Regions from separate parts of the Homo sapiens genome. Here regions 1, 2 and 3 are each linked to region 4. Evidence: promoter capture Hi-C in human tissues and cell types (Jung and others, 2019). All regions are on one chromosome and are shown on one strand. The core of a region is centred on a gene start or on the middle of the fragment in contact, and the rest is flanking DNA. Distances in the headings are between cores, read along the strand shown. Region 1 overlaps ACSS3 (acyl-CoA synthetase short chain family member 3). Region 2 overlaps PTPRQ (protein tyrosine phosphatase receptor type Q). Region 3 overlaps PTPRQ (protein tyrosine phosphatase receptor type Q). Region 4 holds the start of LIN7A (lin-7 cell polarity scaffold A).

What was found. Contacts are between HindIII fragments. The study calls those that stand out against the background at their distance.
Region 1: a fragment that was not itself captured here is called in contact with the fragment with the promoter of LIN7A in region 4 in 2 of the 25 tissues and cell types used here (dorsolateral prefrontal cortex and hippocampus).
Region 2: a fragment that was not itself captured here is called in contact with the fragment with the promoter of LIN7A in region 4 in 1 of the 25 tissues and cell types used here (lymphoblastoid cells).
Region 3: a fragment that was not itself captured here is called in contact with the fragment with the promoter of LIN7A in region 4 in 1 of the 25 tissues and cell types used here (lymphoblastoid cells).

The regions. Positions count from the first base shown.
Region 1 is chr12:81,258,317-81,261,550 of GRCh38, reverse strand. It overlaps ACSS3 (acyl-CoA synthetase short chain family member 3), which reads right to left. Exons shown (of 16, transcript NM_024560.4): 16 at 341-3,234. PPFIA2 (PPFI scaffold protein A2) reads left to right here. Exons shown (of 33, transcript NM_003625.5): 33 at 1,891-3,234. Among named protein-coding and RNA genes, the nearest start is that of PPFIA2-AS1, 19 kb to the left of the region's middle. The HindIII fragment of the contact is 4,905 bases long and covers 1-3,234 here.
Region 2 is chr12:80,633,161-80,636,048 of GRCh38, reverse strand. PTPRQ (protein tyrosine phosphatase receptor type Q) reads right to left here. Exons shown (of 45, transcript NM_001145026.2): 35 at 976-1,104. All of the region lies in intron 1 of LOC105369867 (a long non-coding RNA gene), which reads left to right. Among named protein-coding and RNA genes, the nearest start is that of MYF6, 73 kb to the left of the region's middle. RefSeq lists an enhancer at 2,808-2,888. The HindIII fragment of the contact is 5,580 bases long and covers 1-2,888 here.
Region 3 is chr12:80,484,227-80,487,325 of GRCh38, reverse strand. It overlaps PTPRQ (protein tyrosine phosphatase receptor type Q), which reads right to left. Exons shown (of 45, transcript NM_001145026.2): 9 at 2,721-2,893. Among named protein-coding and RNA genes, the nearest start is that of PTPRQ, 42 kb to the right of the region's middle. The HindIII fragment of the contact is 4,311 bases long and covers 1-3,099 here.
Region 4 is chr12:80,936,469-80,939,610 of GRCh38, reverse strand. It overlaps LIN7A (lin-7 cell polarity scaffold A), which reads left to right and starts at 1,677. Exons shown (of 6, transcript NM_004664.4): 1 at 1,677-1,970. The coding sequence starts at 1,889. RefSeq lists a silencer at 2,340-2,549. The HindIII fragment of the contact is 2,607 bases long and covers 841-3,142 here.

The sequences.
Region 1 (3,234 bases), core at 526-3,025, 320 kb before region 4:
TTAAGCAAGTTCACCGAGTCAAATAGCAACAGACAGGAAAATGATTTAGAGATGGTTTCATATTAAAAAATAGAAACTTGCCGAGGCAGGTGGATCACTTCAGGTCAGGAGTTAGAGACCAGCCTGGCCAACATGGTGAAACCTCATCTCTACTAAAAACACAAAAAGTAGCCAGGCATGGTGTTGCACTCCCATAATCCCATCTACTTGGGAGGCTGAGGCAAGAGAGTCACTTGAACCTGGGAGGCAGAAGTTGCAGTGAGCGATGGTGCCACTGCACTCAAGCTTGGGTGACAGAGCATGACTCCGTCTTAAAATAAATCAATAAATAAATAGTAGAAACTGTGAAAAATTCAAACCTTTATTACATTGTTTCTTATCAATCTGATTTACACTTGCTAAAAACAAATATAAATTTTAAGTATTTAAGACATATAGGAACAAAATAAAATTACTTTAAGAATGGAGAATAGGACCAGCACAAAACCTTCCTATGTAACCATAAATACCAAGCATTTGATTTTAAGGAAATACCAATTAATGAAAGCTACTTTAAAATCCATATAAAAATGAGGTTTTATTGAAAAACAGTCTTAATAGTAAAACTGTGGTTTCTTAGATTTATAAATGTCAAATGTTCATAATTTTTTTTCAACCTAAAACTATGCTTTACCAAAATATTTAACCACTTTCGATGAATCAATATTTTAGAAAAATACTTTTTAAGAGCGATATTTAGAACAAAATGTGTGCACAGGGTTAAGAGAAAACAGTTATAGACAGAGGAACAACTCACCTTGTGCTGTTTTCATTGCCTTGAACTAAAAGTGCCACACAATTTATTGTTGGTCTTTTGGGCTTAGGATGGGAGCAGATATGCTGCCTTATTTGGATCACTATTTGAAGCTGATAAAATGAAAAGCATCCCGATAAGAGATTTAATTTCAGAATGTACAACCCTTACATTAAAATTTTAATTATGGTATATAATTTGGCACCTAATTAGACATGATTTAAAGTATATAATAATTTGGCTAAATAAGAGGTCTCCCAAAATACTGTTTATATTAGATTCTACACATAGCATTATAATTTCTTCAGGAAATGAACACTTCACTAATTTACAAATGACTATTTAATATGTTCAATAGTGCTTGCTTCTTAGCTCTTAAGTGATGGGTAGAGTTACTCTATTTGCAATCTGTTTTTTGTGCATGACATTCTAGTTCATATTTCCTAGTTTTTACCATTAATTGGGATAACAGTATTCATTTACAATAATTCAATCTAGGACAACCATTTTTTGTTTGGGTGAAACAACAACACTTTTGATATTAAAATAATCCAGAGCATACTACTTGCTGTTTCTTTTGTGTCAGTAATAGCAATTGTGAGCTTTTTCTAAGTACATTATGGCTGAAAACAATCAGCAATGCCATACTACTGACACAAACGTTTACAATAGGTGACTTATTATCGTTATGTTTTTGTAACAAATAAAGGTATTTTTTAAGAACTCTAAAATATATGAACTAGAATATAAATCTACATTATGAAATAGGTCAATTCAACCCAATTTATTAATTAGCAAGTTGTAAATTTTTCAGAAGGCATGCTAACATTTTGCATAACTACCTTTGTTTACATTACTGCCATACTTTCCACAAAGTTGAGCAAATTCTATTATTTGTTAAGCTCCCCTGCACCAAATTGGAGAAAAGCAAATGTTAATTACATACGGCTGTTGGCTACATCCTAGATGATTTCCTTCTCATGATCTTCTAGGACAGGAGTAAGCAGGCTGCGTGGAGGTACACCACAGAGGAGTAGAATGAGATTTCCCAGTCTGGGACTTTTCAGTGAACTAATGCTATCCATTGTATATTTTAGATGGCGTCTTTTCAGTCTACTCTACCTAAAGTGCACTACCATCTAAGAAGACGAGCAGTGAAAACCTTTGTGAAAACTGAATTCTAAGGAAATAATGACGTCATGACTTATTAAAAGCTGAAAAATGTGATTTTTGGGGGGAGTCAGATATTACATTTGATTAGTTTACTACAAATTGTAATAAAATGCTTAAGTCATTTGAATAATAAACATCATCTACATCATAAACTCTGTACAACAGATGCTTTTATGAAATGAAGCCAGTTGTTTTTCATGTTTTATTGTAATATACTAGGCATTTATGTATTACCGTGCATTTCTTTTTAAATGTGTAAGTCTTATGTAAATGGATATAAATATGATTTTTTAAAAAATAAAATATATGGTTCATGGAGTCTCGAGTGCAAACATTTGACAATTCCAAGTACTGTTTGTATTTTACCATTCCACCATTTTTACAGTTTTTGGATTGTTAATAGTCAAATCAATATGTTTCCTTGAAGCATGTTTCATGCTTCAACGTGTTTCTCCTTCAAGTCTGTCAATACTTAAAGCTGAACAACCTGCCTCTGATCATGTAAAAAAGAATGATTTAACCTGGAACCGGAGCCAAAAATAGAGCTTTAAAGGCAATCAGGGATGTCCTATATCTTTAGAAATAGCACTGTGATGGCTTGATCTCCTTTTCAATACAAAACAAAGCCAAGCTGTTTACAAGGGTCAAAAGCAATTATTTAAAAATTTATATTAAAAAACCATAATCTTCTCTTGTTACCTGTGGACCAAGAAAAAAAAAAAGATAAAAAAACTTCTTTACTAAGAACCACATGTTCATTCAAATATCTTGAAATGCCAGCCAGTACTGGACAGTGAATGTCAACCACCGCAGAGTCTGAGGCTCATTTCCACTAGAGAAAACGAAACCCAAGATACCTTTCCCTTTTGTCAATGTAACAGGGCATTAGCCAGACTCATGTCTAATGTTATAAGCTTTTAGCCGAGATGGCCTTGTTGCGACTTCCCTGAAGTCAGTTTTATCAGAGGAAATAAATGAAAGACAGAATGATTAACATATATAGTGTATAAAAGTATAGAAGAGTAATCTCTTCCCTGTGGCTTTATTTGGTGGTGTTACTGTTGTTTATTCTTTGTTTATATGGGAGATTCAAAGTAAAGCCTATTTAATAATACCATTTATCTAACTGCTGATTTTCTGCTGCTTGATCTTATTAAGCGCAAGACCTGTCATTAGTAATTTCTTTTCTGTATTTTAATTTGCTATGTTTGCACGTACATTACATTTGTTTTGATGTCTATTTTTATTTAACAGATTCAGTCAAAAGG
Region 2 (2,888 bases), core at 221-2,720, 300 kb after region 4:
AGCACATATTAGGTATTTTTAGATATGCTGGAAATATACTTGCAAAGTCCATCTATTAGATAAAGACCAACTTTAACAAGTGACAACTACAAATGAATAACTTTTTGAGTCCAAGACATTTGATGCCATATTTTCAAAATTAATAATAATTTTTTTAATTTTAACAGAGCTGAGCAAATACTTGGTAACAACTACTTTGTGCTTATAAGCATTACATGTTATTGAATCTTATAAAAATGCAAACGTTAAAATAGCCTGATGGTAGTTTTCATTAAGAATTTGATGAATTATCTTAATAGACAAGTTTTTATAATGTGCCAACATTTTGAATAATTGATAATGCTTTTAAAAGGATTTATAATTATTTTTTCTTTAAAATTATGTACTTTACTATTTCCAATAGGTACCAATGAAACATATTTAGTACACATGTTTTTACTTTTCCCTCTGAAGGTAACTTTTTACTTTATATTTAATTTTTAAATACAAAGAAATGTAAAAATGATATCATATACAACTTAGACTTTTATGTACTTTTATACTGAAATAGTTATTAAAAAGCTTTTATAAAAATGGATATAAATAATATCAAGTAGTTATAAATTTAATTAATTTAAACCTGTGATTGAAAATGTGGACACTTCCAGAAAAGTTTAATGTAAAAATCTATCATATGAAATGAATTATTAAACATAATGTCAAAGGTTTAATGTGGAAAAATATTTGTCCCAGGAAAATAATCCTGATTGAACATTATAGTCCAAAGTTCATATTTAACTCAAAATATTAGGAAGATTAAGTGATTCTCTGAACAGCAGTGAGAAGTGTGTAGAAGACGGAGGTCACTCTTTGAAAGAAGATCTCTGTGACCTGTGTAAATTAGAGCCCCACAAACACTTCCAACAAGCATAGGTCAGAATAGGGTCATGGCTCCAGGCCCTCTGGACCACAGTTCACCCAGAGGAGTGTGCTCACCGCGTTAATCTCTCGTCCTTCAGTTCCAGGTCTGCCACTGTGATGAGCTGATCCAGCTTCAATTTAGTGTCAATAATTTCTGCATCCTGAGGAGAGTATGTGCCACCTTCTTTCTGCTTCTGTCGAATTCTAAAACAAGCGGAGTAAAGTCCAAGAAGGGAGTTTCACACAAAGTATATAAAATTAGGTTTAGTTTTCTTTTTAAGTAAAGACATTTAGTCAAATAATTTCCTTGTTAAAATCACCTCTCTGAATATGTTGCAAATTTATAGCTACTCGACTTCTTTTTCTTGTTTTAATTCCATAGAACCTATTCTACTTTCTTTTTTTTCTAATAAGTTATTGGGATGAAGTTCTAAATTTAAGAAGAATTAGTTGACGAAGGCCTGAGCCATTGGTACATTTAAATATAGAGCCAAGAAGACTTACGTTGTGATCTTGTTTCTCTTCTCTCTAGCTATGTCATTGATTTGTCATATAAAGGAACTATGCCAAAGTGAAAATAGTTCAATGCTATCAATAGTATTGCTAACAGATAATGCCCCATTGTGTTCACATATATGAAATATTTTTACATGCATGAAAATACTTAAAAATTATTTTCAAATTATCTTATTGAATTTTTATAAAAATATTGTGAGTAGATATTATCTTTACAATCAGAAAACTTAGGTTCAAAAATAAAAGCCACATGAATCTGAGAATCAAATCAGATTCTTTTCATCTTAAACCCTTTAAATGCTTATTTCTCCATGACACAGTATGGTATATTACAAAGTAATGTTTAGCTATTCTATCTTTCACATTTCAAATATTTAGTATTTATTAAGAGTTGGACATCAAGGATGATATGGAAAGTATAAAACATGTTCCCTACCCTCAAAGACATTACAATTTAGTTGAGAGGCAAGATTTCAATGCAGAAAAAACATGAAAAGAGAAAAAAAGATTCAAATTACAACACATAAGACAGTGCCTGATTAGTTACATAAATAGTTATTATTATTTAGAGGAGGTAAAGAAGTAGAATTTGACTTGGATGTCCCAGGATGAGAAGGAGGAGGAAGCACATTTCAGGGTGACTGAACAAAAGCAGAATGTATAAAAGCCCAAGGAATGTTCAGGTGAGAATAGATCTCTTTAGCTAGTGAGTAGGCAAGTTGTGGGGAATAAGGAGGACCATTTCCTACTCACACAAGGAGTTCATCTTGTAGAGAAATGAGAAGTCAGAAAAGATTTTAGAGCAGGGAAATTACATAAATGTGGCCAGTCCATACTCCTTAGGGAAAGGCCCATATTTTACACATTATAGCATTCAAAGTGCCTCGAATGATAACTCTCTCACTGTCTTCTGGCTAAATCTGCAAATAGTTATGTGGTATAGAGAAAATATCTTTTTCAAGAGCCTTTCAAATTATCTATTAAAATTATGCTTTAAGAGAGTCAAGATGAACCATAATGCATGGCATTTAGAATACAGAACTACATTCTTCAGTTGAAATAAAAATAGTCTATTGAACTATTTAGGAAATTGGTAGAAAGTTTACTTTACAAATGTAAGGTCCCTTTAACTCGGCAATCTGCCTTAAGAAGCTAGATTTTGAGGTCAGAAGTAAGATTTCCAACGAGGCCCTGTAAATAATAAGGGAAGTAGGATGCTGATGCTGAGAATGGAAAGATACACTTGGAAAATTCAGCACAGACATGTTCAGAAAGTAAGCATGAGAAGGGGGTCTACCATATAAGGAAGCTGGATATTTTACAAGTGTTGTTCTAACTATAAAAAAGATCTCTTTCTGTATAAACTTTAATATTTAGACCTGATTGAGATATTTTAAATTAAACCTATAAGAGTTACAAATTACTTTAAAAGATGTAGGTGGCCTGAAAGCTTCTGCTTTTGTGTTTTCACC
Region 3 (3,099 bases), core at 473-2,972, 450 kb after region 4:
CACTATCACTGTCCCAAGATCTCTGTCCTCATTCCAATGTCACATCTTCCCTCCCATCATGAAGCCCCTATTATCTCAGAGAAGATTTCTGTTTTGTTTTATGGGGAGAAATTTATTTAGATGTAATGAGCCCTGGTGGACTCTTCCCACAAATGGCTGCAATTAGGAATCCAGAGCGTCAGAGAGAAGGATCAGAGTAGAAAGTAAGGCAAAAGAGTCAGACAAATAGGAAGCAGTGATTGAAACTGTTAGGTCTTCAAAAGAAAATGTTATGAGATGGCTGAAACCAAAGCTCTGTGGAACATCTTCACTAAAAAGTTAGAAAATAGAGAGAGTTAGCTTTTTGAACTTTCATTTTTAATTGTGCAAGGCCAAAGAATTGCAATGTCACAGTACATAAAATTGCAGAAAGTATTAAGGAACAAATAGTTTCAAAAGCTGAAAAGTGGGGGGACAGAGGGATGGATTTTGAAGGAGATAAGAACACAAGGGTGGTTAAAAATATTTAATTCTTGTGTTGCACACTGGGGAGGTCACTGGTGACTTCTAATAAGATTTCAAGCATTTAAAGAGTTCTTGAGTTGGGGAATGAGGCTACTTTTTCAGAAGATCAATAGAAATGGGAAGAGAGTCCTCATCCTGAGAGAGGTACCAAGGTCAAAGAAAGGAAAAACAAATGAAGAACACACTAAGCCACAAGTTGTATTTCTTATGTCATTTACTCCCAACCCTGTAAGGTGGCTATATAAGCCCCATTATATAAATGAAGGCACCAAGTCTCCAAAAGTTGATTTTTCTAAGGTCATAGACCTAGAACACGGCAGAGTCAGGCCAAGAACCCAGGGCCATTTGGATTTAAAGCTTCTGTCATATCTGTCTCCCCACATCAATCTCCTGAAAGGTAAACCCAAACACCAGCTACATGGGGAAGCAGAAATATCAGAAATGAGTCTGATCTAATAAAGAAAGATATAATCAGAGAAGTAAAGAGAAGCATAATGTCTCCTTTCATTGAGAGAGTATAAGGGAAGTAATATTGGGTAGCAACTAAGGTGGATGATCCTATGCCAAGATTAATGATCACAATAGGTCACAATTATTTAGCACAGCACTTACTATATGCCAGGTACAGTTCTAAGCTCTTTACACACATGAACCCATTAAATTCTCATTATTAACCCTTTGTTATAGGGACTTATAATCACTATCTTAGAGAAGAAGAAACTGATGTTCAGAGAGCTCAGGCCAACTTTTCCAGGGTTAAACAGTTAGTAATGGCAGAACTAGAGTTTAAACCTGGTTTACAGTCTTAACCACTTGCTATATAGCACAGTGAGAGACAAAATCATAATTTAAATCCAAATTTGTACGTCTCCAAAGCTCATGAGCTCTCTACTATGAGACGAGAATTGCAGACCAGATAGAGACAGAATCACAAAAAAAAAGCCTTTCTAGAACCTCTTAGCTTCATGGAAAAACAGGTGTGGCCACCCATTCAACAGATGTCATTAGCAGAAGTGGGAAACCTGTCATCTAGTACTAGGAAAGCTCAGTATCTAATTTAAGACCTTCTCAGCAGGAGCAAAGGGTTAAGCTTTTGCCCTTTGCCTGAGTTGTCAACCAGAGTATCACAGAAAGCATAATTCAACATCTTTTGCACAGAGGAAAGGAATCAACATAGGATTAAAATTTAACCCTGGGTTGAAGATGGTGAGCAACTTGGAGTGATAAGTCCTGGGTGGCCAGAATGCATTGAGCACATGGTGAGGTCAACTGTCACATACAGGTAAGTGCCAGAAATAGAGGAAGGCTGGGACTAGAAATAGAATGAAAGCATGTGTGGGGGAAAATAACAGCACAGGTAGAAGCAGCAGCAATTCTGAAACAACACAGCAGACGCCAGGTGCTGAATAACTATCGTGTTTGTCTTTAAGGCCCAGTGATTGCTGCACTGGTCCTAAGGAAGTTTATTCTTTGAATGCCCCGGGGAGCAGCCAGTATCTGGACATGACTAGCCTGGAGGCTGAAAGAGTCTCACAGGTGAACAGTTGATGAAGTGAGGTGAACAAAGACAGTGGAAAGAAAAATCAGTGTTGCCTGTACTTCCTAACAGAAACAAAAGGAAAAAAATAAGACTTCCAGTGTGAATAGAAGCAAACACATTGCCTAAAGATCCTGGTCCTCTTATTTAAAATCTATGAAACGACTTAAATTTCTTTTATTTAGTAATGTGACTCTTAATCAAATGTACTTTGAAAAAAAAAAAGAGGCAGCTTTGAGAAATTTAGCTTCCCAAGACCAAATAGAACAGAATCATTTGTCAACAACAGCTACTAAAGTTACTGTGCCTTTCACTGGCAACTGTTCCAAATTGCAAGCACAGCCTTTGAAGGAGCACTTAAATCATAACAAGAGTTTCCGAACAATTCATTAACTAATTTAGAAAAATAATATTAACTTATGAAAATACCTTTAGTCCTGTTTAATTGCACAATTAACATTTTTCATATGATGAAAAGGAATAATAGCACTTAACTAATAATATATAACCTAAAATGAAATATGATCTAGCTAGATTATCAACATGCCCCAAATTTACTTTACTTTGTACTAGTAAGTGGTCAAATATTACATGTGTGGGTGCTAGCAAATCTTCCAAGCTATCAGAGCCAGAACCAAGCAGAAAGGGTTCACCAATAAGTGAAATAAAAATGCAATACCTCATTATTTCCAGTGAGCAAAGTATTTTCCAAAATTATTCCTGTCTCTGGAACTAGCACTTTCACTCGGTATTGGTTAATAATTCCATTTGGTTGTCGTGGTTTCTTCCAAGTAATTCTTACTTGCGTGGATTCTACCTCTGCAAGTTGTAAATCAAACACTGCCCCTGGAACTAAGAAAGAAAGAAAGAAAGAAAAGAAAAGGGGGAAATTAAAAATATTTTTTCAAGTGAAAAAAGTGCCTAAATTCTTAGTTCACAATTTAAGATATATAAACAATTCTATTAGAAAACAGACTAGGCTAGGTGCGGTGGCTCATGGCTGTAATCCCAGCACTTTGGGAGGCCAAGGGAGGCCAATCACCTGAGGTAAGGAGTTC
Region 4 (3,142 bases), core at 428-2,927:
TACCACACGGTTCCAGGGGATGTATGCTTGTATAAATAAATTTGTATATTCTTTACTGTTTTCAAAGCACAGTCACATGTATGACTCCATTAGACCCTCATAAAACTCTGTGAGATTGCAAGGTAGAATTAGTTTCCTCATATGACAGATCTCTGTGACATTGAATGATATTATTTCCATTGTATGACAGAGGAGGAAACAGGATCAGTGAGAGATTGTGTGACTTCCGAAGAGTACATGACTAAGACTCAAATGTCAAGATCAGCATTCTTTCTTAAATACTAAATAAAAATAAACATATCGAACTACTATTTTAGGTTTGTTCTTAGGGTCTGTTAAGTCTATATATGGCCAATCATCTTTGGCTTTCCCACATTGGTGAAATGTTGTTTTTTAAAATTCAATTGTAGACTATAAAATGAAAAAGACCTTCAGAAATCCTATCTGTAATCAGAAGAAAATGGCATCAATTATATGCAAATATTTTGCTATAAAACAGTATCTGCCTTTTAGAGTTTATTGTTAGCCCAAACAATTCAGCTCTGTCACAGGAAACAAGATGGAGGCAGCTTTGTCATTTCCAATCCTGCACCCACAGTCACCCCTATTCAGCTTATAGAAGGTTTCTTTATGTTTCTTGATTTCGTAGTCAGGAAATGAATCCCTACTATGACAAGATAGTGAAAGTAGCCTTTTTATTGGGGCGAAGAGGTCACAGCCAGTATTTGAAGGCTCTCGTAATTTAATCCTGATCAACTGACTCTAAAGTCAGGTTTTTAATAACACCATCTCCCACTAGATTACAGGCTACAGGAAGTCGGAGACTAAATTGAACTCCTAAATCAAGGCGTGGCACAAGGCAATGTAACTCTTCTATCTCAATTCCTGGCATATATGTTAATCAATCGATAAGTGGCATCTCTGAACCACTGGTTAGAAATCAACATGAAAAGTGCTAGGTACATATTTTTCAAACGTAGTCATAGACAACCAAAATCAGTTTGGACATTAAGAGCAAAGTTTTTGTTGCTGGGTGGGTGAGGGGGAGTGGGGCATGTTTACAGGATGTGGTATGTAAAAAATTCGGAGAAAATCTGAACACTGTACTTGTTTCTAAGCTACATTTACTGAATTGGTAATGTATTAACAGTGGCTTGAAAAAGAAAAACTTAGCGATAGAAACTTACCTACACGTTTTTTATTTTGAAGCACTTTTAAGAGGTTTGCCTTTTTTTTTTTTTTTCTCCAGGCAATATACTCAGGTCCTAAATGAACATCTACTGATGGAACGCTGGCCTTTAGTCAGTTATCTTTATATGCCGTTATAGGTCAACATTCCGAAAAACTTCAACAGAAATTAACTGCAAATGTAATTACATCCCAAACATTTCTGATAATGGAAGCATTTTCTCTCTAAAGGGGATGGGATTATTGGATTGGCAATTTCTCTTAATCTGAGAAAACTCATCTCCCACTCCCTTCCCCATATCCCCTTTCCATCCTCTCTCTTCCCCTTATACACACACGCACCCGCATGCACACACGTATATTCTGACCATTTTATTAGAGTGGAAAGTTGAAAGGAAGCAACCCGCCAGCTACACCCACCCAGCGCTCCTGGGGGTGGAATAGCAAAGTTCTAGGGCAGAGCCTTCCCTCCCAGAGCCCGGCGATGCAGTCGCTCTCGGATACCTGCTCAGCTCCGCACCGCAACTGAAGATCTGCCGCCGCGGAACAGTTGCGTCTCCATCTGGCTACCAACCCACCCAAGCTTTCTTCTCCACCACCACCACCTTCCTTCCTTCCCCCTCCTCCCCCTCCTTTCCGTCTTCCCTCTCCACCCCCGCCCCCAATCTCCTCCTTTTTTTCTCACTACGAGCGGTTGCTGATGCTGAAGCCGAGCGTCACTTCGGCTCCCACGGCAGACATGGCGACATTGACAGTGGTCCAGCCGCTCACCCTGGACAGAGGTAAGGGAGCGGCTCGCTCGCCAGGCCACCGCGTCCCCTCTCCCCTCCTCCCTTCCCCGCCTGCCAATTCCCAACGGGACATGGGACGCGCTCAGGCAGGAGGAGAAGGGGAACGAGGACGAGCCAGGAAGGCGTTCGCGCCGAGAACAGAACACTTTCTTCCCCTTTCTCTCCCCGCTACGTTCCCGCTGCCCCTTCCCACTGTACTCGCCCCGCCGAGGGGACGCCTCCTTCTGGCTCTGGGGTCCCCGCTGCCACTCCCAGCCCCTCGCCGGGTCGTCTCCGGTCCTCTGGCTTTGTTGGAGCCGCTGCGCGGGGACGGCTATAGGCGCCAGGGGCTCGGGGTTGGAGAGGGGCAGAGAGCAAGCTCGCCCGGCCAGAGCCCAGAGGAGACCGGCGAGGGAGCCGCCTGTCAGCTTGCTTGGCGCAGGGGCCCGGGAGGAAGGAAGTTTGTCCAGGCGCCGGAGGGCGAGGGTCGGTCCAACTGCTGGAGTCCCGGCGGCCACTCGGGGGGCGGGCTGGGCGCACCCCTGGGCTGCCGGGCGCACAGTGGCGGGGCTGCAGCAGGCAGGGAGCTGCCCTCTGCCGAAAGGGCAAGGCAGAGCGCGGGGAGCCGAGCCCCAGCAGCCGAGATCGGCTCTCCGCGGCTTCGAGATCGAAAGCGGCGAGGGTCGCGTCTGCTCCCGCCGCCGGCAGCTCCCGGTCGATAGCAACTCTCGGCTTCTCCCGCGCCAGCCTCTCGTGTCCTCTCCCAGCTCGGTGCCACCGCGGCGCCCAGGCTGCGGAAGGCGCGGGGACAAAGCGCAGGTCGGGTTAAAATTCAACTTCTGACCTGCCACCCAGTGAGTCCTGCTCTCTGACTTGAACGGGGAAAGTGTTCGCTTCCTCCCCAGGACGCCCTCACAAGCTCAGGGATGGAGTCCTCCGCTGCGATCGGGGCCTCACTGGTGCACCCCTGTGGGGTTATACCTGTCCCTGAGTGTGTGGGTTTCCTTCCTGGCTCCAGCGTCCAGTGATGAAGGCGCTCGAGTCCTACGGCTCTGCAGAGGAGGACACCCTCTAGTCCCTCTCCGCAGCCGCCGGATTTAGGACCCTGGGCGGCCATTTGGAAATGGTGTACTCAGAAGAAAATGATTTAGTCCGATGTACCTCTAAAAATTTTCTTTCTAGAG